Regions from separate parts of the Homo sapiens genome. Here all the other regions are linked to region 1. The links are contacts of gene promoters, found by promoter capture Hi-C in blood cells and fetal thymus (Javierre and others, 2016). All regions are on one chromosome and are shown on one strand. The core of a region is centred on a gene start or on the middle of the fragment in contact, and the rest is flanking DNA. Distances in the headings are between cores, read along the strand shown.

Region 1 (3,636 bases), core at 839-3,338:
ATCAAAAGAGATAAATCCTCATTGGTATGTAATTAAGTAACAGAAAAGAGAAATGAATCACGGGGTATTTTGACATGCTCACTCCCATTGTTCAAATGTGTTAAGTTTTAGAGGGGAAAACAAAGCCTTAAAATATACCAAATTAAGCAGACTCAAAGAGACTATATGTTTTAGAAAGGATAGCCTAACCAAGACAGACACTATTACAGAGCCACAGTGAATTTGAATTTTGTTTTGTTTTTTAAATTCTTGGGCACTCTAATCCAAACACATTCCTGTATTGCATGTTTCTCACAAACTGACAGATACATAACCTTCCCCTGCCCTCATCGTGGAACAGTCTTTATGAGGTTTCAAATTCGGGATCCATGATGAACATCATTTAACACATGAATTGTCTGAAGTTATATATGCACATTTATTTGGGTGTTTGAGTGAATGCATGTATTTATGGGAAAGAGGCCCAGTTGTAATAGGATTCTCAAAGAGATCCAGAACCATCTAAAAAAGTTTAAGCAATCCTAGTATAGGAAGCTCCTTTATTTGACAGGAAGCTGATAAGATTATCTCTAGGGTCCTAAGAAACTAAGGAGATGATGTTTTAGGTGAGATTGCTAGAAAGCCTTCAGTTCATGTATTTTTGTCACAAACACCAGGTACTATAAAAAGATCATTTAAAAAAAAATGTTCAGAGGCTAACGGCTTTGAGTCAACCTCCTCAGTATGCAACTTATAACACGTGTGGCACTGACCATAAGGGTTTGAGAAGGAGGAGTAATAAAAATGATTATCAACTGCTGTATGAAAATCGCCTGATGATTCGTAATAAGGAGCTTACATCATTAAATAATGTCACTAAGCACTTTCAATTAGCACTGATAAAAGTCTCAGAGTTGGACTGATTTAACTACTAACAAAATACTTTAATTTTTCACTGGTCCTATGAACTAACAGCCTATCTCCTAGGTACCTGAAGCTCCCATCATCTTCTAAATACAGAAATACTGTTACTAGAAAACAGTTCTTCAAACAAGCTACTTTTCCATTCATGGTACACCTGAAGAGTTTGCAGAAGACACTCAACTCTTAAATAGAACAATACCTTCGAAGCCAAGCCAGTGTCACATATCTCTCTAGAGGAAGAAGATTATGCATGAAAGATCATACTCCTGATAAAGGACATGTTCACATATTGTTTTAGGCAGAACCAAATATTCTAAATATGTGTTTTCACTGCAATGTAGACTAAATTAATTGCCAAAGATGAAAAGTTACTTGCTATAGGGTCCTCCACTTCCTCCATAATCATAGGACTGCTGTGACTGATCATCGATGCTGTAACTTGTCTGGTAGAAATCCGTGTTTAAGTTTTCAAAGCCTGACATTGCAAATAATCTGTAATAAAAGAGAAATGGCAAATATTCCTTATGCCCAAGGTTCTACTGAATTCGTTCCTGGCAGTCTGCTTAAGCAAATAGAAACACAACAAATATTTTTTCAGTAATTCGGAGAGGGGATGGGGGCGGAAAGTACGCAGCATTTGAACGACGGTAGCGGAGAGAGAGTAAGAAAATGTATATTCTTTTAAGTTGCGGCCCAGTAAGACAACTCCACCTTAAAGAGCTGATATGCCTTCCATTAGGGGCGAGGTCGTGGGAGTTGTGGTTCCATAAGCGGTCTAAAATATCAATAACAACAAAGATGATTTTTCACCTTAGGACTGGGCTTTACAGCTGACAAGGCGACTGCTTCCTTGCAAAATAAGGCCTGCGGCCTGCCAGGAAAAAGTGCAGAATCTGGAAGGTCGCGCCTGAGGTGCAGGGGACCGCGTCAGGGCAAGGGCTTGAATGAGAGCGAGGGTCTGAGCGAAAGGACCAGGGCGCGGCGCCGAAAGACGGCAACAAGCCCATTTGCACGGGTGTGGAGAGAAGCTGAACACTGTGCCACGGGCCTGGGTCACTCACCAAACTCTGAGGCTGCGCTGGCGGCAAAGGCAGTAGCTTCACTAATCCCAAACAACCCCCAAACTCTGTTTCAGACCCTGAACCAGCCCCGTTGCTACGTGTCACAGGGCCAAAGAACGGCTTCCGGGGCACGCCCGCTCGCGCAGGCGTGTTAGCAGGTTGGGCACCGGTGGGCGGGAGGAGGAGACACGAGTATGGAGCTTGCGCAGTATCTACCCAACCTGCGGCTGGCCCGTGCCAAAGAGGAAAGTGCTTCCGGCAGCCTGGTTAGGGGTGGAACCAGGAAAGCGCAGGCGTAGCAATTGCTGCTTACTCGTAGGTAGGAGGAGGAGTTTCTCAGACCTAGGTGATGGAGGAAGACTGGGAGGCGCTAAAATGAGACAGACGGAGTCCCCTCTCCTGTCCACAAACTACAATGCCTACAATGCCTCGGTGTCAGCATTTACTGTGATTCAAGCACTGTGCTAAAGTGTTTGTATGTATTATTTAATCTTTACAACCTAATGAGATGGTTACCCTATTTCCCTTTTGTAAGTGAAGCTATTAAGTATTCATTCATTCTGTGCTAGCTGCTGGGGATACTGTGGTAAATATAAGCTAGGTGACATCTACCCACCTGGAGTTGGTGGTGGAGAGGGGTAATCGAACACATACAAATGCATGTGAAATTGCTACTAATATTCTTTAGTGTTCCATAATTCTTTGAAAGAGTAACATTCATCTGGGAAGAAGAGTCTGTAAAGCCACTATAAGAGGGTTATCAAAGGGTGAGTGGGAGTTAGAGAAGACCAGAAAAGAGAAGAAAGGGCAACGGGAAAGGAGGATAAGGGAAAATAGCCTGAATATTTTAGGCAAAGAGAACAATGTGTGCAAGATCTGGGAAGCATGGTCTGAGGAAAGATGAAAATCGAGCTCTGAACTTCAGCATTATTAACATTTTGAGTCAGGATGTTTCTTTATTGGGGGCTGCCCTGTGCATGATGCTTAGCAGTAGCATCCCTAATCTCTAGCCATTAGATGCCAGTACTCCCCCCAACCAACCACCACCACCATCACCACCAAGTTGTGACAGCTAAAAATCTCTCCAGACATTGCCAAATCCAAATGTCCTTGGGGGCGGTGGGGGCAACATTAGCTGAATTTGTCAACCACTCTTCTAAGTGGAACCTGAGTGACTGGAACAGCAAGTGAGGGGAGCCACATAGGAGTTGAGGCTGGAATAACAGGAAGGGGCCAGGAAATATCCTGTGGGATTTGTGTGTTGGTTCTAAAAGAAGTGAAGATTGTGAACTGATGAGTGATGTTTAAATTGTTTTCTTTTGAAAATGATTGCTTTGGCTCCTGTGTTAAATCACTTTCCCAAGATGGTGGAATCCCGAATATTGTGACTCGAAATAAGATGCTATTAACTAATGAGCAGAACTTTCTTCAGGGTTTATAGCAATAAAATTTATCATGAGCCACTGCATTATATTCTGGGATCAAAATCCTGAGGCCCTCACAAAAGAAGCCAGACCATTGTTGGGGACTAGTTTCCAAAGGAACAATAAAATTTCACTTAAAACTTTTCTCTCAACACCCCCCACCCCAATAAAACAAACAGAAAACGCACTCCCCTCCAAACAAAAATAGCAACAACAAAAGGATGTAAGACCCAACCAAAAAACCTAGG
Region 2 (3,636 bases), core at 564-3,063, 2.9 Mb before region 1:
ATGAGCCAAGATAACGCCACTGCACTCCAGCCTGGCAACACAGCAAGACTCCATCTAAAAAAAAAAAAAAAACTTACTCATAAAAACGTTTCACTTAAAAAGATAAATTAGCCTTCTGAAGTCTGCAAATGTCAGCATATTTAATTATAGACCTGAGGACTAGGTAACTTTTTTTTTTTTTTTAACATTTCAATACTGTTTCTTGTCAGATAGAAGTAAAATGGACTTTAGGCCGGGTGTGGTAGCTCAGGCCTGTAATCCCACCACTTTGGGAGTCCAGGGTGGGCAGATCACCTGAGGTCATGAGTTCAAGACCAGCCTGACCAACATGGTGAAACCCTGTCTCTACTAAAACTACAAAATTAGCCAGGTGTGGTGGCACATGCCTGTAATCCCGGCTACTCGGGAGGCTGAGGCAGGAAAATCGCTTGAACCCAGGAGGCAGAGGCTGCAGTGAGCCGAGATCACACCACTGCACTCCAGCCTGGGCAACAATAGCAAAACTTTGTCTTAAAAAAAAAAAAAAAGAGGCCGGGCGCGCTGGCTCATGCCTGTAATCCCAACACTCTGGGAGGCCAAGGCGGGCAGATCATGAGGTCAGGAGATCAAGATCATCCTGGCTAACACAGTGAAACCCCGTCTCTACTAAAAATACACAAAAAAATTAGCTGGGCATGGTGGCGGGCACCTGAGTAGTCCCAGCTACTCAGGAGGCTGAGGCAGGAGAATGGTGTGAACCCAGGAGGCGGGGCTTGCAGTGAGCCGAGATGGTGCCACTGCACTCCAGCCTGGGTGACACAGCGAGACTCCGTCTCAAAAAAAAAAACTTTAAATATTTTCAAACCCAAGCTTCTCATAAACCAACCTGTCAAACAAATTGCATACAACTCTGCCTCTTTTATCAGTAACTGATTTTTCAAAAATAGCTTATGTTGTGAGGCATTAGATTATCTTTAGAGCATGAGAAATTTGGTACCAACTTCCTTTATGAGCAATTTTGATGAAATGACATTGATAAATGACCTCAGTTCTCAGAATATTAATTATAGGAACTCAACTGAAGAAAATTAGAAATATTAATCCAAACCAATGGAATGGTTCATTGGACTGCACTTGATAACCACTGCTTTGTTTCCAACATTTTATGCAGGTAGATTTAGCGCTTTTTAAAAAAGGCACAAAGGCCTTCATCTACAAAAATTAGGGTACTTTAAGAAAGCTCTGTATCTAATGTTTCCCAGCTTTCAAGTAGATCAAATAGAATTGGAATCTTAATATGATGCAAACATGACCATTCCCAATTTCTTTACCCCTGCTGTGTTCCTTTTTTTCATAAACCCTACTGCCTCTACCTGCAGAACGGGATCAAATTGCTTAGTCACTAAACTCCACCATAAAACCACCTCACAAGAGGACCTGACTCCCACCAACCATGAAAGAACAAGATACACTATAAAGTGAAAAACAGATGCTTTTATTTATTGTATTGGAAACAACTTAATAATTTGCATCTCTACATATAGAAAGCTGCTTTGAATAACTGGGAAAACAATTATTGCATAGGAAAACATATGCAAACTAGCATCATTGTCTCTAGACTAGGTTCTTCTTATTGATCTCACGTCATCACAAAGCAGCAACAGCAGCTTCTAGAAAATGGAGAAACAGTAAAGTCCTGCAATGAAGCTATAATTAAGGTTGAACCATACATTCCGCTAATCCTGCAACTTTCCTACAATCATTTTTCTGCCTATACAATCCTGCTTCTTATAGGATGAACACCTAGCAAAACAATATAAATTTGCTGAAAAACAAAATTACAAACAAATGAAAGAACTTAACAGAACACACAGCATTAAAAGGACTAGGAAGAGCAAGGTCTTAATACCCAGTACAATAAAGCCAAGAATTTTCTAATGCTGACCAGTCTGAAGACTGAAATTAAATATCAGTTCTTTTTACTTCTCTAGGAGTGATTCTAGCTCCTCTTGCAAAGAGCTGAGTTGCTCCTTTTCTCGGTCTTCCTTTTGTTTGAGCTCATCCAGTACAGCCTGAAATCTGTTCTTGAGAGCCAGATTTTCCACTTTCATGATGAGATCCTCTTGTCGTTTTGCCCTGTCCTGGGTCTCTTGGAGCTTGCCTTTCATGTTGTCAATCTGCTTCTGAATTCCCATAACCAGCTGATTGGTTCCTTCATTTTCCTGGTGCTGTTCATCTGATTCATTTAGCTTGTCCTGTAGCTGTCTCTCCAGATCTTCCTCCGTGTCAATGATGTTTATATCTTCTTCATCTTGATGCTGGGTCTCATCTTCATCCTCACTGCTGCTGCTGAGGTCATTGAATATCTCCCGAAGCTCATCATGTTCTAATGAGTCATGGCCCTGCCTGTGACCAGACATTCCTGGAGAAGAGATATCCAGGCCTTGATTTTCTGCCTCCTTTGTTTCATCTTCGGCAATTATTTCCCACCGAGTACTAACAGCTTCAGCATCTGTACTCAGCAATCGTTTCACTTCTTTTTCAACATCTGGAGATTCAATATATTTCTTCTTTGCTGTCTTCCGGAACCTTCTCTTCCTGACATTCTTTAGAGGCAGAGTAATTCCGTGGTTCCAGATAAACTTTTTCTCTTTGTCCTTATCCTTTTTCTTGCTTGCTTTAGGATCAGTGCTAGCAACTGGCTCCTCCACAGGAGGATAGAGATCACCATCAACTGTGGATACAAGCATCTGACAGATATCAGCTGTCTTGTAAAAAGTTTTTTTATCAATGGTTTTCAAGCTTTCCATAACACAGGGCAGGTCTACTAATTTTGAGGCCAATGGAACACGGTCCACTCTGACGATTCCATGACGCCCATCAGGATGTAACTCAATTGTCAGTCTGTCCTTGAGGTTGACATGACCAGACTGTACTGCCCTTCTCACAGTAGAGGCATATTCTGGAGGCAGACGTAAGATAAACTGGCTCTCCAGTTCGTGAGGAGCATCATCTTTGCTTTTACTCATCTTTATTTCCTTGTGATTCACTTCTCCAATAAATGCTGGTTACACTAAAAAGTTCCAGCTACTGCAATAGTTTAAAACACCAGTTTGCTATGAATTGAAATCTTTTAATTACAAGAAGTTCTCTGTAGATCAGCAGCTAAGCGTCTATTTTGCCTTAGTTTTTATTTAAGCTCCAAGTCTTTTCTCTAAATATGCTGTGACCGAATACCAGTCGTTAACACAAAGGCTTATTCACAGACTTAAGTTCATTAAATCAGATGCAATGCCAAGTCCCAACCTCTAGGTGCCGCTGCCGGACAACGCGGAGAGAGCTAGCTAGCTAGCTAGGGAACAGGAAAGCAAATGGCGGCTCCCCCGGAACGGTTTTCGGCCCAGAAAGCCCAGCAGAGATACTTTCAACTCACAAACTCTCCCGGAACAAAGACACTCAAAAAATCAGGGCTCAGCGAGCTCTCTTCGCCTCGGGTACTTACAATCCAGTGACGATTATAAGTTCAGTTTCACCGGGCCGGAGCGAAGGGAAGAGGAGGCCGCAAGGAGCCAAGCGGGAGAGAGCCGAGCGTCTCCTTGTCGTTTCCTTAATTCTTCCTGCCGCTTGGCAGAGTGATCCACTACCGATTACTGATGA
Region 3 (3,636 bases), core at 295-2,794, 2.3 Mb after region 1:
TTGCCTTCATGGATTGGTTCTTCAACTTTTTCTCTTTCCTGTTAATTACCTTTGTCTTTTTATTTAACTTTTTGGATAATTTCCTTGCCTTTATTAACCAACTATTTAGATTTTTAAAATTTATTGTGTCTTTTAATTCCTAAGAGTTCTTTTATGTTTTTTGAGGTTTTTCTTGCCTTATGGGTGCATTATCTTAGCTCTGTGAGGTTGTTTAGGAACATTTTTTTCTTTTATATTTTTATTTTTCTGTATAGTTTCTGATTCCACTAAGTTTGTTCTCTTTAGGGCTCTATTTTTCATGTTGGAGAGTTTCCTTAGATGTCTTGTAGACCCTGACTACTTAAGTGAAGCACTAAAATGCTGTTTGGGTACTCTTTTTTTTTTTTGCATGTAGAGATGGGATTTTGCCACGTTGCCCAGGCTGGTCTTGAACTCCTGAGCTCAAATGATCCTCCTGCCTTGCCCTCCCAGAGTGCTGGGATTACAGGTGTGAGCCACTGCCCGGCCTATTTGGGTATTCTTAGCATTTAGGTGGGCCCTCGTGCTTTGGGGCTGTACTGCAGAGTGGTGGTTCTCAACCACGAGTAGTTTTGCCCCCAGGAGACATTTTTGTCACCATTGAAGTGAGTGCTGCTGGGATCTAGTGGGTAGAGGCCAGGGATGCTGGTATACATCTTGCTCAAAACATCACTGTGCCAAGGTTGAGAAACATGCTGTAGGGTGAGTTAGGCTGGTTTGTTGAGAACCCCTGGAGCCAATGTTTTAGGCTGGTCAGATTCCCAATAAAGACTTCTAATCTGGCTGGAGGGCACAGATCTCTCTGCTTCGGATCTGAGAGAACTAACTGTGTCTTAGTATTTGGTATGTGTTTGGTTAATCTCCATGTTTTTAGTTTGGTTTGCCTTATTCCCAATTCAGATTCCCTTAGTTCAAAGACACTCTCTTTTACTTTCTAGAGCAGGCAGTCAGCAAATTTTTAAGAGTCAGATAATTTGTATTTTAGGCTTTGTGGGCCATATGGTCTCTATTGTAACTTTGCAACTGCTGTTTTAAGTGTCAAGTACCTGTAGACATACGTAAGGGTATAAGCATGGCTGTTCAGTTAAAGCTTTATTTATGGAAATACTGTCATTTGAATTTTATTTAGTTTTCATGTGTCATGAAACTTTGTTTTTCCCCTCAACCTTTAAAAAATGTAGAAACTATCCTTGAGCTGTATAAAAACAACCCGTAGGCCATAGTTTGCCAATTATTTGCTTTGGAATAGTCACTTGCCTTTTACATTCAGAAGTGGCAGTGCCCAGAAACATTAAGTTGGTGGGGGCATCTGGCAATTTAACAACTTATTAAATAGCTTTTCATCCTTAAAATACTACTTATTTTAGCTATGCCCCATCCTCACCTCCATAGGTATCTGATGCTGTCTATTCTTGAGTTGTTTGAGGAGATTCTGGTTTCAGAAAAAAAAACTTGAGTTGCCTCTTTGTTTTTCTTGACTGCTAGGTTATGTTGAGTGCTCTCATATCTGTCACATCCTTTTCCACTTGTCCCATCAGCTTTGCAAGTTGCTGGTTCTTTTTTTCTCAATCATTGTTGGGTTATGACTTAAAAAAGAAGTTCTTCTGTCATTTTGTAGGGTGTGAAGTAGGTGGTAAATAGATGATCAGTTCATTATCTTGACTGTATTATTAAGTGGGGGAAATATAGAATAGATGTAAAGCATGATTACATTTTAGTGAAAATACTTATGTCTTAAGAGAAGCACGGAAATAAAATATACTACAGATTCCATACCATTGATATTTCTTTCTAAAAGGGATTTGGGAAGACTGTGATTTCTCTTCCGCATTTCTAAATTTCTTGACATGTTTATAATAATCATGTATTTATAATCGGGAAAAAAATTAAAGAGGCTTTTTGCTGTTTTCTTTTGTTCTTGAAGCCTAAGTAGAGAGCTGTGTGCTTGTGTAATATCTCAGTGAAGCTTTAAAGTGAAACTTGGTATAGATTATCTGTGTATAATTATCTACAGTTAATATATTTTTCCTGGTATAGTTTGGACAAAGACATTGTCCAATAATTTGGTAGTTAAATTACCTATATGAAAGATTGACTTGTCAAATTTGTTGATTTTTATAATAGGTGTTTGATCAGTATGTAAAGACCAGGGCAGAGGAAGAACGCAGGGAAAAGAAAAATAAAATAATGCAAGCCAAGGAAGATTTCAAAAAAATGATGGAAGAAGCAAAATTTAATCCAAGGTATGTGGTTTGTTTCTCTTAAATATCAAAGTGTATTTATTTTCTCCTAAGATCAGTTTTTAAAAATTAAAAAAATAGATATTTTTTGACTATTTGGGCACTAAAAGCTCCTTATTTGATTATCGGTTTTTGCCAAAATTTCTAATCTTTATTTTTTACTATGTTTCCTTTAGAGGAATCCTAAGTGCTCTAAGAAGGGTACCTTTGATTTAAGTGCTTCCCTATGGGAATAAGTTCTTTAGAAACTAGTATATGATAGAAAATCTGTGCCTCATCTTTGTAAAGTTTTATACATAATGAGTTGCAGAGGAGGAACATTATTTTGATTAAATTGAAGTGGTGAAGGACCTTTTACCACTTCAATTTCAAAATTTTCTAAGTGTCTAGTTAATGGTCATGTCTGACATTTTGAATTGATTGGTAATATGTATTAAATACATGTAATGGGCTGAAGAAAATGAGACATTTTAAATTTATTTGCCTAGTTTTATAGTAATAACAGTTACTGGGTATTTTATGTGCTTATTTGCACTTTAAAACATATATGTATGCATTTATACATTTACATGTAAACATGACTGAAAGCATATAATTTTATATATATGCATACAGATATTCAGTCTTCAGAACAGGTAGTTTGATTTAGGTACTTACGTGATACCTGTTTTATATGAGATAAGCAAATTAGGTAGCTTGCCCCAGTGAAGCTGGGATTTCAATTAGATTTCAGTGTTGCACAGAATTGTATAGGTAGGGGGAATTATTCTTATTTATGACTTAGATGTAAGAGTAGTGGTATTAGGTTACTGGGAATACCTCAGTATTCTAAAACTGTCGGGTAGCATCATGGAGTCTCTGGGTTAAATGGCACTTATTATAAACGTTCATCTTATATAAATAGTTAATTTTGTCTGTGGAGGTAGGAAAGAGTGATGTTGTTTAAGAAGAATGTTTAATATAGTTTTATATTTGAAATATGGTATTAAAAGTTTTAGAAAATAAAGCTAATAGAGTATTTGTGATATGAAGAATTTAATATTCTTCAGGGGTAGTAGAGGTTCAGACTTTCCAGGGAGTCCTGAGTTTTTTCTGAGTCAAAAGAGTGAGATCATGAGTCAAAATAGTTGAGTCTCTGTTATAAAAGACATTTTGGGGGGCAGTTGAGGTCACTTGGTAAGAATTGGATATTAGATGTTAGAGAATTAGTAATTTTCTTGGGTATTGTGGTTATGGAGGAAAAAGGCTTTACTCTCAGGAGTTGCATGTTGAAATATTTCTAAGTGAAGTCTTAAGATGTCTGCAGCTTATTTCCAAAGCATTCAGCAGAATATATTTATTAAAACTCCATATGGGTCTGTGAATAATTGAAACTCCA
Region 4 (3,636 bases), core at 351-2,850, 2.3 Mb after region 1:
TTTTTAACTCATATTTTCTAACCTTTGGATTGTAGGATCATTTGCAAATTTGATTAAATATACTTGGTGTAGTAGTTCTGGACTTGTTTACAGTCCTGGTTATACCAGGACTGTAAACAAGTCCAGAAGGCAAATTAGTTTTTTTTTTTTTTAATTTTTTAATTTTTTTGAGACTTGAGTCTCGCTCTCTTGCCCAGGCTGGAATGCGGTGGTGCAATATCGGCTCACTGCAACCTCTGCCTCCTGGGTTTGAGTGATTGTCATGCCTCAACCTCTCAAGTAGCTGGGGCTACAGGCATGCACCACCATGCTTGGCTGATTTTTGTATTTTTAATAGACTCAGGGTTTTGCTATGTTGGCCAGGCTGGTCTCGAACTCCTGGCTTCAAGTGATCTGCCCACCTCTGCCTCCCAAAGTGCTGAGATTACAGGCATGAGCCACTGCTCCTGGCCTAAATTGGTTCTTTATTAGGATTTTTTTGGTGTGTGTCAGAATTGAACGATGATGTGGTAAATTTAGAGAAAGTTCAAAGGGTAATCTATAAGCAGAGGGTTGAAAAATGTCAGAAAGTTGAAAGAGCCTGGTAACGAGAGACTATAAGAATGATTATTTTCAAATATATAAAGAATATAATTGTTAATTCCTCTCTTGAGGACAGAAATGTAGGTTTTTTATGTATAATGTAGATGTATAGTAGCTACTGGGAATACCATGATAGGTACTCAGTAAATGGGTGGAATTGTAAAAATAATTTTTTTAAGATCCTGCATACGCTACTTGTAAGGTAGTTTGGGTACTGTATCACCTAGGTATTCAGTGGTTCATGCAACAAATACTAATACTAATATTTATTGAGCCCTACTATGTACAGATCTATGTGCTAGGGATACAAGAGTGAACACAATTCCTACTCTGAAGGAGCATTTGCCTGTGTTTGAATCCTCTCTTTATTTTCTTTATTTATTTATTATTGAGACAGAGTTTTGCTCTATTGCCCAGGCTGGAGTGCAGTGGCACAATCTCGGCTCACTGCAACCTCCACTTCCCAGGCTCAAGCAATTCTTCTGCTTCCGCCTCCCAAGTAGCTGAGATTACAGGCGTGCACCACCATGCCCGGCTAATTTTTTTGTATTTTTAGTAGAGATGGGGTTTCACCATGTTGTCCAGGTTGATGTTGAACTCCTGACTTCAAATGATCTGCCTGCCTTGGCCACCAAAGTGCTGGGATTACAGGCGCGAGCCACCGTGGGCCACCTGAATCCTGGCTTTAGTACTGAACCAGTTGTGTGGCCTTGGACAAGTGACTTCTTTGCTTTAGTTCTTTATCTATAAACTGAGATTAATAGTATCCATCTCATTGGGTTGTTTTGATGATTAAAAGACTTAATTTTTGAAAAGAGCTTAGAGCAAGCACTGCCTGGCTCATAGTAAGCACTTTTAGGAGTTAATAATTCTCTTTACAAAAGCACTTGGGGGAAGAGATAGATAATACTATCTCATGTGATATTACTTATTTGCTTAAATGCTGTGGAGAAAATACATTAGGGTGTTGAGAGTGAGGGGTGGTGGGGCAGTGTGCCCTACAGGGAAAGGCTTTCCCTTTAGGTAGAGACTACTAATGATCTGCCAAGTGACCCCCCTGCCCCCTTTAAAAACTTTGGAAGTAATTTCAAATTTACAAAATGTCGCAAAAATAAAGCTAGGGTGTTATTCAATGTTAATATTTTACCTCTTCTGCTTTACTATTTGCGTGCACACGTGCATCCTCTTTGTTATTCTGAACTGTGAGGGTAAGGTATACCTATGGCTTTTTACCCTTCAATACTTCAGTATTTTCTAAGAATAGAGATATTATTTTACTTAACTACAGCCTAATTATCAACTTCATAAATTTGTAATGATATAATACTTTAATCTGTTGTGCATATTCCAGTGTTGTCAGTTGATCTGGCAATGCCCTGTATGGCATTTCCTCCTGTTAGTACAGAATCCAATCTAGAGTTAAAATTGTGTTGTTATTGGCCGAGCGTGGTGGCTCACGCATGTAATCCCAGTACTTTGGGAGGCTGAGGTGTGCAGATCGCCTGAGGTCAGGAGTTCAAGACCAGCCTTGCCAACATGGCAAAACCCTGTCTCTAAAAAAAAAAAAAAAAATTGTGTTGTTATGACTCTTTAACCTTTTTTAATCTGGAGCATTTCCACAACATTTCTTTGTCTTTTATGGATAACATTGACATATCTGAAGAATACACATCCCCCTTTTAATAGAACATTCCTTCCGGCCAGGCGCTGTGGCTCATGCCTATAATCCTAGCACTTTGGGAGGCCGAGGAGGGCAGATCATGCGGTCAGGAGATCAAGACCATTGCCAACATGGTGAAACCCCATCTCTACTCAAATACAAAAAAAAAAAAAAAAAAAAAAAATTAGCCGGGCATGGTGGCGCATGCCTGTAGTCCCAGCTACTTGGGAGAAGAATCGCCTGAACCCGGGAGGCGGAGGTTGCAGTGAGCCGAGATCATGCCACTGTACTCCAGCCTGGCAAGAGAGTGAGACTTGGTCTCAAAAAAAAAAAAGAAAAGAAAAGAAAGAACATTCCTTCCTTATTCTGAGTTTGTCTGATACTTTCCTCGTTGTTAGATTGAGGTTATACATTTTTGGTCGGAATAGGTGATGTCGTGTCTCTCTCAGTCACACATTATCTATCTGTCCTTCTTAGATGATAATTAGTTTTGATCACGGGGTCAAGGTATTGCCTAATTTCCTTATTACGTAGATTATGTAGAGTGTTTTTTTTTTCATCCTTTCTTGCAACTTTAAGCAGCATGTGGGTAAATACTTTAAGACCATCAGATAACCCTCTTGTCTAAATTTTTGCCTAGACTCGGCATCCATTGATCATTCATCCAAAACTAGATCATCCATTGATGTAAGTTTTTTTTTTTGTTTTTTTGGTTGTTTGTTTGTTTGTTTGTTTTTTGAGATGGAGCCTTGCTCTGTTGCCCAGGCAGGAGTGCAGTGGCTTGATCTTGGCTCATTGCAACCTCTGCCTTGCGGGTTCAAGTGATTCTCCTGCCTCAGCCTCCCCAATAGCAGGACTTACAGGCGTGCGCCTCCATACCTGGCTGATTTTTGTATTTTTAGTAGAGATGGGGTTTCACCATGTTGTCGAGGTTGGTCTCAAACTCCTGACCTCAGGTGATCCACCTGCCTTGACCTCCCAAAGTGCTGGGATTACAGATGTGAGCCACTGCACCCGGCCCATTGATGTAGTTTTTATCATGACGGTTGCAAAATGATGACTTTCCAACTCCACTTAGACTTAAGAACCTTTTAAATTTGATGGATGTAATTAGAGATCAGTAGCTACATTTTTGTAATTTTAAGAAAGAAAAATTTATTCCTTGCTTTCCCATGCAGGATGGCCCAACAGCAGGCCTTGAGGTTCCGAGGTCCGGCTCCCCCACCAAATGCAGTGATGCGAGGCCCACCACCTCTGATGCGACCTCCTCCACCTTTTGGTATGATGCGAGGCCCTCCTCCACCACCACGGCCGCCCTTTGGACGTCCTCCTTTTGATCCTAATATGCCGCCAATGCCTCCTCCAGGAGGGATACCTCCACCTATGGGCCCTCC
Region 5 (3,636 bases), core at 579-3,078, 2.2 Mb before region 1:
ACTTGGAAAACTACTGAGGCCTGAATTAATTGTTCTAGGGTGTGGCCTGGGTATTGAGATTTTAAAAAACAGCTCCTCAGAAGATTCTAATGTGCAGTCAGATGGAGAACACTAACCTAAAACCATAAACTGCATGAATGAATCTCTCATCCCATTTGCAAATGTTTTAACAGGAAGAAACAAAAAGCTTAATTCAATTAGCACCATATACTCCCACCTAGTAAAATAAGACAATGTGAAAGGACCTAATACAGTACATAGTAGGTGCTCAATTAATGTAAATTGATTCTGAATCTCATTCTTATCTCATTTGGGAGTTACACATCCGAGAATCTGGTTTTTAATTATGGTTTTGTATATAGTATTTTTGCATATAATTTTAGGGTGTTGATAGGATTCTCCGTAGCCCATCTATAGACCACACTCCCTTTTCCCCTCACCCCAGTGAAGAAGCCTAGCTCTAAAGCATTTAGAATAAAACTTAAAAGTTTGTGTTTGTGTACTCTTGTTTTGTTTAAGTATTTTTCTGTTACCAAAATTAACCTTGAGTGCCACTGGCAGGCTTAATTCATGAACAAGAGAGGAAAAACTGGAGGGGAGTGGCAAATGAAGGAATACAAGAAGCAGAAGAGGAAAGGAGAAAAAAACAAAACAAAAAACAAACTGAAGAGATTGTTTGTTATGGGGCATGGTGTCCTGTACTTTCATATGACCTTGGTGTTCCTCCTTAGCTCCTCCCATAGCTGAGGGCAGACAGATAAAAAGTCCTCAGTCATTGCTGGGGACATGCAAATACTCCTTTAACCACATGGCTCAGTTAGCCTGCCCTAGGAGAGTAACATGCACTTGTAGATTAGGATTGGCTATATGTTAGGATATGTTTGACTTAAGCAGTGATCATGGAAATTCAGAATTTTAATTTGGAGAGGGTCCTAACACCATCTTTTGTATTTCTTTTCTGCAGATGGCAGGATTTTCATAATATATGTAGTATGAGTTCCACATCTTGGCCTCTTACCCAGCTTCAGCAGTCTCAGCTCCACCAGTTAGAGAATAAATGGGATTTGCATGAACTCCACTCTGAGCTGAAATACAGACTGCGGTGTTAATATCCTTTTCTTCTGATTGTTATTAACAGGTACTAACTGACCTCAAGTAGAACATGTAATTGTGTCTTAGATAGGGATGCAGCTTAAGCAGAGCCATGAACTAACATCTCCTAGAAAAAAAGTGTTTTTTGAAAATGAAATCATTTTTAATTTCATAGTATGACCTTTTAAAATGTAAAAAATCCTAACTTTTTACTTATGTACATTTTAATTAAAAATATTTTAGTTGTGAGGGAGGATATTTGCAAATGCAATTGTAGTTCAATATTTTAATTGACTGGTAGTTTTGTTTTATTAAAATGATTTTTGTAAATTCTCATTGCATATTTTTTTCACATTTAAATTATCTGAAATTGCTGTATCTTTCAGTTGATGCTATTTTAAAAAACATTGATTCATACTTTATTTTTTGAGACAAGGTCTTGCTCTGTCCCCCAGGCTGGAGTGCAGTGGTGCAAACACGGCTCACTGCAGCCTCAGCATCCAAGGCTCAAGCGATCCTCCTGCCACAGTCTCCTGAGTAGCTGGGACTACAGGCACACACCACCACACCTGGCTAATTTTTTATAGAGACAGGATCTTGCTATGTTGCCAAGGCTGATCTCAAACTGCTGGCCTCAAGTGATCCTCCTGCCTTGGCCTCCCAAAGTGCTGGGATTACGGGCATGAGCCACCATATCCAGCCAGTTCATACTTTAATTGTAGCTAATTTCTTTTTCTTTCTTTCTTTCTTTCTTTCTTTCTTTCTTTCTTTCTTTCTTTCCTTTCTTTCTTCTTTCTTTCTTTCCTTTTTTTTTTTTTTTTTTTTTTGGAGACAGAGTCTGTCTCTGTCACCCAGGCTGGAATGCAGTGGTGCAATCTCAGCTCACTGCAACCTCTGCCTCCTGGATTCTAGTGATTCTCTAGTCTCGTGCCTCAGCCACCGAGTAGCTGGGATTACATGCGTGTACCACAATGCCCGGCTAATTTTTTTATTTTTAGTAGAGATGGGGTTTTGCTGTGTTGGCCAGGCTAGTCTTGAACTCTTGGCCTCAAGTGATCTGCCTGCCTTGGTCTCCCAAAGTGCTGGGATTAAAGACTTGAGCCACTGTGCCTGGGCCTTGTAGCTAAATTCTTAGTATTACCTAAAATAATGGTAAATCTTTCTTAAAATTATTATCTTTTAAATATTCTTGAGTCATAATGGTGAATCTTTAAATTGGTGACTGCTTGGATTTGACAAAATCTATTATTTCAAAAATTTAATATTATTTTGCTGCTTGCTCAGTTATCTAATTTTCTTCCATAATATCTATGCCTGTAACATTCTCAAGCACTGTTTTCTCACCTGGGAGCAATTTTGCCTCCAACCCCCATCCTGCCCCAGGACCTGGCGCTATTTGGAGATATTTTTTTTTTTGAGACAGGGTCCCACTTTGTCACTCAGGCTGGAGTGCAGTGGTGCTATCATGGCTCACTGCAGCCTCGACCTCCCAGGCTCAAGTGATCCTCCCATGTCAGCTCCCCAAGTAGCTGGGACCACAGGCAAGCACCACCACACCTGGCTAGATATTTTCAGTTGTCACAGCTCTTGTGGGTGGAAGCGGGCCACTATTGGGTATCTAGTGGGTAAAAGCCAGGGGATGCTGTTAAGATTCTATAATGCACAACACAGCTCTCCAACAACAATTATTTACTTCAAAATGTCAATAGAGCTGAAGCTAAGAAAACTTGCCCTAAAGATTCCTGTGGATTTAAAAAATTTACTTTTTTGTTTTTTTGAGACAGAGTCTGACTCTGTCGCCCAGGCTGGAGTGCAATGGTGCAATCTCAGCTCACTGCAACCTCTGCCTCCCACGTTCAAGCAGTTCTCCTGCCTCAACCTCCCGAGTAGCTGGGATTACAGGGGTGAGCCACCACACCCAGCTAATTTTTGTATTTTTAGTAGAGATGGGGTTTCACCACGTTGGCCAGGCTGGTCTCGAACTCCTGACTGCAGGTGATTTGCCCGCCTCGGCCTACCAAAGTGTTGGGATTACAGGCACGAGCCACCGCGCCTGGCAAATTAACTTAAGAAAGGAGTGTAATATACTTTGACCACTTTTGCGAACCAGGCACATTGCTAGGTTCAGTGGACAAGTCAAAGTAAATTTGTGATTTGTCCTTTTCAAAGAAAATTTTCAAATTGTGCTTTTTTTCCTCTAATTCAGTCATAAAATATCTAACTGATAAGATCAGGAATTAGAAGTACCACAACCATCCCTTTTGAAAAAGACTGTTAATATTGCAAAACTAATGGAATGCCAGATATGGCTGTCATTTTTGGTTTAGGAGAAAAGTGATAATATCGATTAATTCTTTGCAGTTGTTTTTTGTGCCATTAAGCTTTTTCCACCTCTGTGCATTTTCTTTTCTTTTTTTTTTTTTTGAAACGGAGTTTCACTCTTGTCGCCCAGGCTGGAGTGCAGTGGCGTGATGTTGGCTCACTGCAGTCTCCACCTCCCGGTTCAAGCGATTCTCCTGTCTCAGCCTCCCAAGTAGCTGGGAT
Region 6 (3,636 bases), core at 304-2,803, 2.0 Mb after region 1:
TTTCTGTATTTTTAGTAGACATGGGGTTTCACCATGTTGGCCAGGCTGATCTTGATCTGCTGACCTCAGGTGATCCTCCTGCCTCAGCCTCCCAAACTGCTGGGATTACAGGCATGAGCCACTGCACCCAGCCGATATCTGGGTTTCTTAAACCCATTTCAGTTATCCAATATCTGAATGTTTTGCCCATTCCTAACATATAGAAACTTTATTATCCATACCCAGCACTAAATCTATCAGATCATTAGACTCCTTGAAGGTTCCTATAACGTCAGAGAAAATAACATTGCCATTTTCTTCCATTCTTATTTATTTTTCTAAGTCCTTTTCTTCTGTGTTAGACTACCCTTATCCAAGAACTAAACTTTTTAAGTAAAGGTGGAAATGTAATTTTTTTCCCCTTCTCTCCTCCATATGAATGTAGACTAGAACTACACTGATAAAAATTTTCTCATTATTCTCAGGGGTGAAATTAAGTTGGCCTACACATCTGTTTTTTAAGGTGTTTATAGAATAGCCAGGGTAAGCATGGCATGTGTAATTTTTTTTTTTTTGAGACTGTCTCTCTCTGTCACCCAGGCTGGAGTGCAGTGGTGTGATCTTGGCTCACTGCAACCTCTGCCTCCCGGGTTCAAGTGATTCTCCTGCCTCAGTCTCCCAAGTAGCTGGGATTACAGGTGCACACCACCACGCCTGGCTAATTTTTGTATTTTTAGTAGAGACGGGATTTCACCATTTGGGTCAGGCTGGTCTTGAACTCCTGACCTCGTGATCCTCCTGCCTCGACCTCCCAAGTGCTGGGATTGCAGGCGTGAGCCACCGCGCCCAGCTGGCATGTGTAATTTTTATTTTATTTTATTGAGACAGTCTTGCTCTGTTGCCCATGCTGGAGTGCAGTGGCACAATCTCGGCTCACTGCAAACTCCACCTCTTGGGCTCATGTGATTCTCCCACCTCAGCCTCCTGGGTAGCTGGGACCACAGGTGCATGCCACCACACCTGGTTAATTTTTTGTAGAAGCAGGTTTTCACCATGGTCTAAAACTTCTGGACTCAAGCGATTCCCCACACTTTGGCCTCCCACAGGTGTGAGCCACCACACCCAACCATAATATTTTTTGAAGATAGAAAGGCTACATATTCACTATTTTGGTTTTTAATTTAAAATTTTATTAATAAAAATTGTATGTATTTAAGGTGTGATGTTTTGATATATATGCACATGCTGAAATGTGCATATATATCAAAAGCTAGTTAACATAATCATCTCATATAGCTGTCTTTTTTTGTGTGGTGAGAACACTTAAGATCTACTCTCTTAGCAAATTCAAGTTTACAATATATTTATCAATTTTAGAATTTAACAGTTGGCCTTACTAAGGTTATCTGTTCATAATTCTCCAAAATGTAACATTTTTTACTTAAGAAAAATCTTTACTTTCTTTTATTTTTTATTTTTTGAGACAGGGTCTCACTGTGTATCCCAGGCTGGAGGGTAGTGGTGTGGTCATGGCTCACTGCAGCCTTGACCTCCTAGGCTCAGGCAATGCTCCTGTCTCAGCTTCCTTAGTAGCTGGGAGTACAGGTGTGCGCCACCATGCCTGGCTAATTTTTATATTATTTGTAGAGACCGGATCTCGCTATATTGCCCAAGCTGCTCTTGAACTTCTAGGCTTAAGCAGCCAGCCTTGGCCTCCCAAAGTGTTGGGATTATAGGCATGAGCCACCAGGCCCAGCCTTGAGTGACTCTCTGTCTATTTATTTATTTGGAGATGGAGTCTCGCTCTGTTGCCCAGGCTGGAGTGCAGTGGTGCGATCTCAGCTCACTGCAACCTCTGCCTCCCGGGTTCAAGCGATTCTCCTGCCTCAGCCTCTGGAGTAGATGGGACTACAGGTGCCAGCCACCTTGCCTGGCTAATTTTTGTATTTTTAGTAGAGACGGGGTTTCGTCATGTTGTCCAGGCTGGTCTTGAACTCCTGACCTCAGGTGATCCCCCCGCCTTGGCCTCCCAAAGTGCTAGGATTACAGATGTGAGCCACCGTGCCCGGCCAGGTGAATGGATGTTTAAAGAACCAGCCTTTCCCATGACAGTGTTAATATTGACAACAAAAAAAGTTGTGTTACTGAATTACGAACTTTAAGCATAAAAACTAGAAGGAAGTAAAGGTACTGGTGCTTGGTTTTTATTTTGTTTACTAATCTCATAAAGTTATTGGAAATGTGATTGATACTCTTGAGCTGAAGCCTGTTTTTTTTTTTTTTTTTTTTTTTTTTTGGAGACAAGGTCTCACTCTGTTGCCTAGGCTGGACTGCAGTGGCATGATCATGGCTTGCTGCAACCTCCAACTCCTGGGCTCAAGGTGTCCTTTTGCCTCAGCCTCCCAAGTGAGCTGAAACCTTTTAACTTTCTGGCTGCTAGTGAAGGCCCAAGGATTATAGAACAAGATTAGTTAGATTTGAATAGTGTTTTATAGGTTATATAATCACTTTGCTTGCATAATGGTTTTACTTACTGTTATTCTGAATTTTTTGTTTGTTTGTTTGTTTGTTTTTTGTTTCTTTGAGACAGGGTCTCACTCTGTCACCCAGGCTGGAGTGCAGTGGTGTGATCGGCTGACTGCAATTTCTGCCTCCCAGCCTCAAGCATCCTCCCGCCTCAGCCTCCCGAGTAGCTGGGATTACAGACGTGCACCACCACACCTGGCTAATTTTTGTATTTTCTATAGCAACAGAGTTTTGCCATTTTGCCCAGGCTGGTCTTGAACTCCTGGGCTCAAATGATCCTCCTGCCTCAGCCTCTCAGGATGTTGGGATTACAGGCATGAGCCATTGCACCCAGCCTGAATGTTTTCATTTTACCTTCATAACCTGACTGTGAAGGATATGTGTTATTTATGTATTCATCAGGAAGCCTAGAATATTTTATATATGTGTGTGTATATATATATGTTTACAACAAGAAAACTAAAAGTTTCATGTGATGTACATAAAACCTCGAGTCTGACAGATTACTATACATCAGGAGTTGACAACCCAAGGATTATGAGCTGTCCTGGAATAGGAGATGATTTTGAGTATCAGTGTTGGATTACTTACTAGAAAAAATGAGAAGTAGATAAAGGTTATCTCTGCTGTCCTTTCACCACTTCTCTTTTCCTTTCTGTTTCTAACTCCTAGATCTTTTCTTTCTTTCTTACAGCTGCTAAAGCATTTGCCAATAATATTTAAATGCCATTCTTTTCATGTTCTTATTTTTTAAAAAGATCTTTAAGATACTCGCTGAGATTAGCAAAAGGGCTGATAGCCATTTTTAGATACTGGTGCCTAGGGAGAGGTGTCTTGAGGAGAGGAGAAAGTTTTTCCATCACTTCCCTTCCTTTTGCTCATTAATCACCTGGAACAGATAGTTCCTGAAGGTGTTATTGACAGTGCTTCTATAGCTGGGAGCCAAACAGCAACTTAGGGGTCAGTTGCCACTCTTTGCCTGTTATCATTGAGAGAACAAATAAATGTAGAGCTCGCCCAAGATCCTTGATATATTTAGAACCTCAAAAATAGAAGACATACTAGTCATTTTGTAGAAATAAATGCAAAAGGAAAATCTCGCAGTATGTATATGTTTATTATAAAAGTTGC
Region 7 (3,636 bases), core at 306-2,805, 2.0 Mb after region 1:
AGCCATTTTGTACTTCTCATGTTCAAAACTGAATTCTGGATCTACCAGCTGTTTTCTGAATCTGTTCATCCCTCATTTTTCCCAATTTCAAGCCAGTGCTCAGACCATACACTTTGGTGTCATTCTTGATTCCTCTTTGTCTTTCATATCCACAATCTATCAGCCAAACTTGTTGACTCCACTCTCAAAATATACCCAAAATCCAACTTCTCACTATAAGTCTAGTCCACACCATCATCATTGCTTGCTTGAATTAATGTTGTAGCCTCCTAACTAGTTTTCGTACCTCCTCTTTTGCCCCCTTCAGTCTGATACCCATAAAGGAGCCACAGTGATCCCATAAAAAAAAAAAACAGCGGATGAGATTATTTCATTACTCTATTTAAAACCTTCAGTATCTGGCCAGGCATGGTGGCTCACACCTGTAATCCCAGCACTTTGGGAGGCCGAGGCAGGCAGATCATGATGTCAGGAGTTTGAGACCAGCCTGGCCAACATGGTGAAACCCTGTCTCTACTAAAAATACAAAAATTAGCTGGGAATTGTGGTGGGCGCCTGTACTCCCAGCTACTTGGGAGGCTGAGGCAGGAGAATTGTTTGAACCCAGGAAGCGGAGGCTGCAGTGAGCCGAGATTGCGCCATTGCACTCCAGCCTGGGCGACAGCGTGAGACTATCTCAAAAAACAAAAAACAAAAAACAAAAAACAAAACCCTTCTTCTAATCTCAGAAGTAATTTTTTGTTGTTGTTGAGACAAGATCTTGCTCTATCACCCAGGCTAGGCATGGTGCAATCACAACTCACAGCAGCCTTGACTTCCCAGTCTGGAGTGATCCTTCTATTTCAGCCTCCTGAGTAGCTGGGACCACAGGCACGCACCACCATGCCTGGTTAGTTTTTTCATTTTTTGTAGAGATGGGGTCTTGCTATGTTGCCCAGGCTGGTCTCAAACTCCTGGACTCCAGTGATTCTTCTGCCTTGGCCTCCTAAAATACTGGGATTACAGATGTGAGCCGCCGCACCTGGCATAGAAGTAAAATCTAAAGTCCTTACCGTTACATGGTCCTTCATGATCTGGCATCTAACTACCTCTTTCACTCATGTACCATCAGTTTCTTCCTGGTTCATTCTGCTCCAGCCCCATTGCCTCCTTCCTTTCCTCAAATGTGCCAAGTCAGCTCCTGCCTCAGGGTCTTTGCACTTCCCTGGAAAGCCTCTATCCCAGATATCTACACGGCTAACACCCACACTACCTTCAAGCCACTGCTCAGTCTTTTTACCTTCCCCGTCACTCTCTATCTCCTCATTTTGCCTTATTTTCCTTTTTAGAATGTATCCCACCTGACATATTATATTGTTATTTGTCATTATTATCTTGCTACTGAAATAGATCTCCAACAGAATGCCTATTTTCTTCATTGCTGTATCCCCAGGGCCTATAATAGTGTTCTACTTATGATAGATTTCAATCAATATTGCTTGAAGGTAAGGAAGGCTGAATGCAGGAACTGAAAGAGGCTAATTCATGTAAAGTTGCATGGCAGAGTGCCTGGCACACATGAGTATGAGTTATTTTTATTTGATATGTCTAAATCACAAGGGGCTTATTTAATCCAAAGAAGAGTGGACGGTTTTAAACATCAGAGTGGACTCTTCTAACATCAGAAGGATAACCAGATGGAATGGGAGTCTTGTCAGTCCACTACTGCTGTTTTGTATTCCCTGCTCCCCCCTGCCCAAGAAAACCCAACAGTCACTGCTGACATGGAGCTTTCCACATTTCTCCTGGATGCTTATATAATCTGCAAGGACGTCAGATCTGGGTCCCCACACAGGTCCAGTGGGAACACATAAAGATCTTGGGGAATTGGGGCAAGGACTATTTCCAGTAACCACACACCTAAAGATGCCATTCTCAACCTTTTCTCCCTGGTGACACTGCTCTTAACATGTGAAGCAATATTTTTGTCTTTTTTAAGAGACGGGGTCTGGCTCTGTCACTCAGGCTGAAGTGCAGTGGCACGATGTCAGCTCACAGCATCCACTACCTCCCGCCTTAAGTGATGCTTTCACCTCAGCCTCCTGAGTAGCTGGGACTACAGGCATTCGCCACTACACCTGGAAAATTTTTAAATTTTTTGTAGAGACGGGGTCTCGCTATCTTGCCCAGGTTGGTCTTGAACTCCTAGGCTCAAGAGATCCTCTTGCCTTAGCCTCCCAAAGTGCTGGGATTACAGGCTTGAGCCACTGTAGTCGTGTGAAGCAACTTTGTATTTATTTATTTATTTGAGGCAGGTTCTTTCTCTGTCACCCAAGTGGCACAAACATGGCTCACTGCAGCCTTGACCTCCTGGGCTCAAGGAATTCTCCTGCCTCATTTTTTGTAGAGACAGGGTCTCACCATGTTGCCTAGGCTGGTCTTGAACTCCTGGGTGATGTTCCTACTCAGCCACCCAAATTGCTTGGATTATGGATGAGCCACCATGCTTGCCTTGAAGCAACATTCTTTTTTTATTTTTTTGCCCCGAAAGAGTCTTGCTCTGTTGTCCAGGCTGGAGTGCAGTGGTGTGATCTTGGCTCACTGCAACCTCTGCCTCCCAGGTTCAAGCAATTCTCCTGCTTCAGCCTCCCAGCTAGTGCCACCATGCCCGGCTAATTTTTGTATTTTTAGTAGAGACAGGGTTTCACCATGTTGGCCAGGCTGGTCTCAAACTCCTGATCTCATGTGATCTGCCTGCCTCAGCCTTGCAAAGTGCTGGGATTACAGACATGAGCCACCGTGCCCAGCCTTGAAGCAACTTTTTAAAAAATTGAGATACTTCTAGAGTCATATGCAGTTGTAAGATATAATGCAGAAAGAACCCTCACACACTCTTCCCAGTTTCCTCCAATGGCAGCATTTATTTTTTTGACACAAAGTCTTGCTTTGTTGCCCAGGCTGGTCTCAAACTTCTGGACTCAAGCAATCCTCCTACCTCAGCTTCCTGAGTAGCTGAGATCACAGGCACCTGCCATCACACCCAGTCAATGGTAACTTTTGGCAAAACTGTAGTATAATTTCAAGACCAGAATATTGACATCGATACATGTTTTGTGTTCATTTGTGTGTGTGTGTGTGTGTGTGTGTGTGTGTGTGTGTCTGCATATAGGCCTTTAGAAGACACACACACACAGTCTTCAAAAAGTTTATGGAAAATGTGTATTATGAAAAAACTATGCATGGATTTCAAATGTTTTTAACAAAATAAACTCATACGAACTTGTTACAACATTTCTAAACAGGATCTAGTTTGAGGCCCTAAGAGGGATAAGACATCAGTTTGAAAAGGGCCTCTATTAGAGCAACATGAATTCTGCTAAAATTGAAGAAAGAACAAACATCAAATTTTTTGTGAAGCTTGGGTGGAATAATGGTAAATTATTCATGCTTTACAAAAACCTTATGGGGACAATGCCCCCAAATAAATCAGCAGTTTACAAATGGATAACTTGTTTTAAGAAGGGATAAGAGAGTGTAAAAGATGAAGCCCACAGCTGCAGATCATCCACATCAGTTTGCAAAAACAAAAAAAAATTAATCTTGTTTGTGCCCTAATGGAAGAGGACCAACAATTAACAGCAGAAACAGCAGCCAACA

What was found. The method cuts DNA at HindIII sites, captures the fragments that hold promoters and counts their contacts. A CHiCAGO score of 5 or more calls a contact.
Region 2: a contact is called between a fragment that was not itself captured here and the fragment with the promoter of YIPF5 in region 1, in 1 of 17 cell types (total CD8 T cells). The highest score is 6.8, in total CD8 T cells.
Region 3: a contact is called between a fragment that was not itself captured here and the fragment with the promoter of YIPF5 in region 1, in 1 of 17 cell types (naive B cells). The highest score is 6.3, in naive B cells.
Region 4: a fragment that was not itself captured here is called in contact with the fragment with the promoter of YIPF5 in region 1 in 1 of 17 cell types (total B cells); the score reaches 7.7 in total B cells.
Region 5: a fragment that was not itself captured here is called in contact with the fragment with the promoter of YIPF5 in region 1 in 1 of 17 cell types (fetal thymus); the score reaches 9.5 in fetal thymus.
Region 6: a fragment that was not itself captured here is called in contact with the fragment with the promoter of YIPF5 in region 1 in 1 of 17 cell types (total B cells); the score reaches 5.7 in total B cells.
Region 7: a contact is called between a fragment that was not itself captured here and the fragment with the promoter of YIPF5 in region 1, in 1 of 17 cell types (neutrophils). The highest score is 6.5, in neutrophils.

Annotation. Positions count from the first base shown.
Region 1 is chr5:144,168,571-144,172,206 of GRCh38, forward strand. YIPF5 (Yip1 domain family member 5) reads right to left here and starts at 2,089. Exons shown (of 6, transcript NM_030799.9): 1 at 1,965-2,089; 2 at 1,276-1,395. The coding sequence starts at 1,385. It overlaps KCTD16 (potassium channel tetramerization domain containing 16), which reads left to right and starts at 2,303. Exons shown (of 4, transcript NM_020768.4): 1 at 2,303-2,439. RefSeq lists an enhancer at 1,951-2,230. The HindIII fragment of the contact is 8,610 bases long and covers 1-3,636 here.
Region 2 is chr5:141,317,037-141,320,672 of GRCh38, forward strand. TAF7 (TATA-box binding protein associated factor 7) reads right to left here. Exons shown (of 1, transcript NM_005642.3): 1 at 1,454-3,636. The coding sequence starts at 3,008. The coding sequence ends at 1,959. Among named protein-coding and RNA genes, the nearest start is that of TAF7, 1.9 kb to the right of the region's middle. RefSeq lists an enhancer at 3,277-3,476. The HindIII fragment of the contact is 1,932 bases long and covers 848-2,779 here.
Region 3 is chr5:146,490,778-146,494,413 of GRCh38, forward strand. It overlaps TCERG1 (transcription elongation regulator 1), which reads left to right. Exons shown (of 23, transcript NM_001382548.1): 16 at 2,143-2,261. Among named protein-coding and RNA genes, the nearest start is that of GPR151, 24 kb to the right of the region's middle. The HindIII fragment of the contact is 876 bases long and covers 1,107-1,982 here.
Region 4 is chr5:146,451,636-146,455,271 of GRCh38, forward strand. TCERG1 (transcription elongation regulator 1) reads left to right here. Exons shown (of 23, transcript NM_001382548.1): 2 at 3,421-3,636. Among named protein-coding and RNA genes, the nearest start is that of TCERG1, 6.1 kb to the left of the region's middle. The HindIII fragment of the contact is 8,635 bases long and covers 1-3,636 here.
Region 5 is chr5:141,969,740-141,973,375 of GRCh38, forward strand. RNF14 (ring finger protein 14) reads left to right here. Exons shown (of 9, transcript NM_004290.5): 2 at 965-1,138. It overlaps LOC124901095 (a long non-coding RNA gene), which reads right to left and starts at 41. Exons shown (of 3, transcript XR_007058977.1): 1 at 1-41. The HindIII fragment of the contact is 3,286 bases long and covers 186-3,471 here.
Region 6 is chr5:146,215,217-146,218,852 of GRCh38, forward strand. The region is part of intron 1 of RBM27-POU4F3 (RBM27-POU4F3 readthrough); the gene reads left to right. The region is part of intron 1 of RBM27 (RNA binding motif protein 27); the gene reads left to right. Among named protein-coding and RNA genes, the nearest start is that of RBM27-POU4F3, 13 kb to the left of the region's middle. The HindIII fragment of the contact is 4,825 bases long and covers 1-3,636 here.
Region 7 is chr5:146,195,678-146,199,313 of GRCh38, forward strand. No RefSeq gene overlaps it. Among named protein-coding and RNA genes, the nearest start is that of RBM27, 6.1 kb to the right of the region's middle. The HindIII fragment of the contact is 3,677 bases long and covers 1-3,394 here.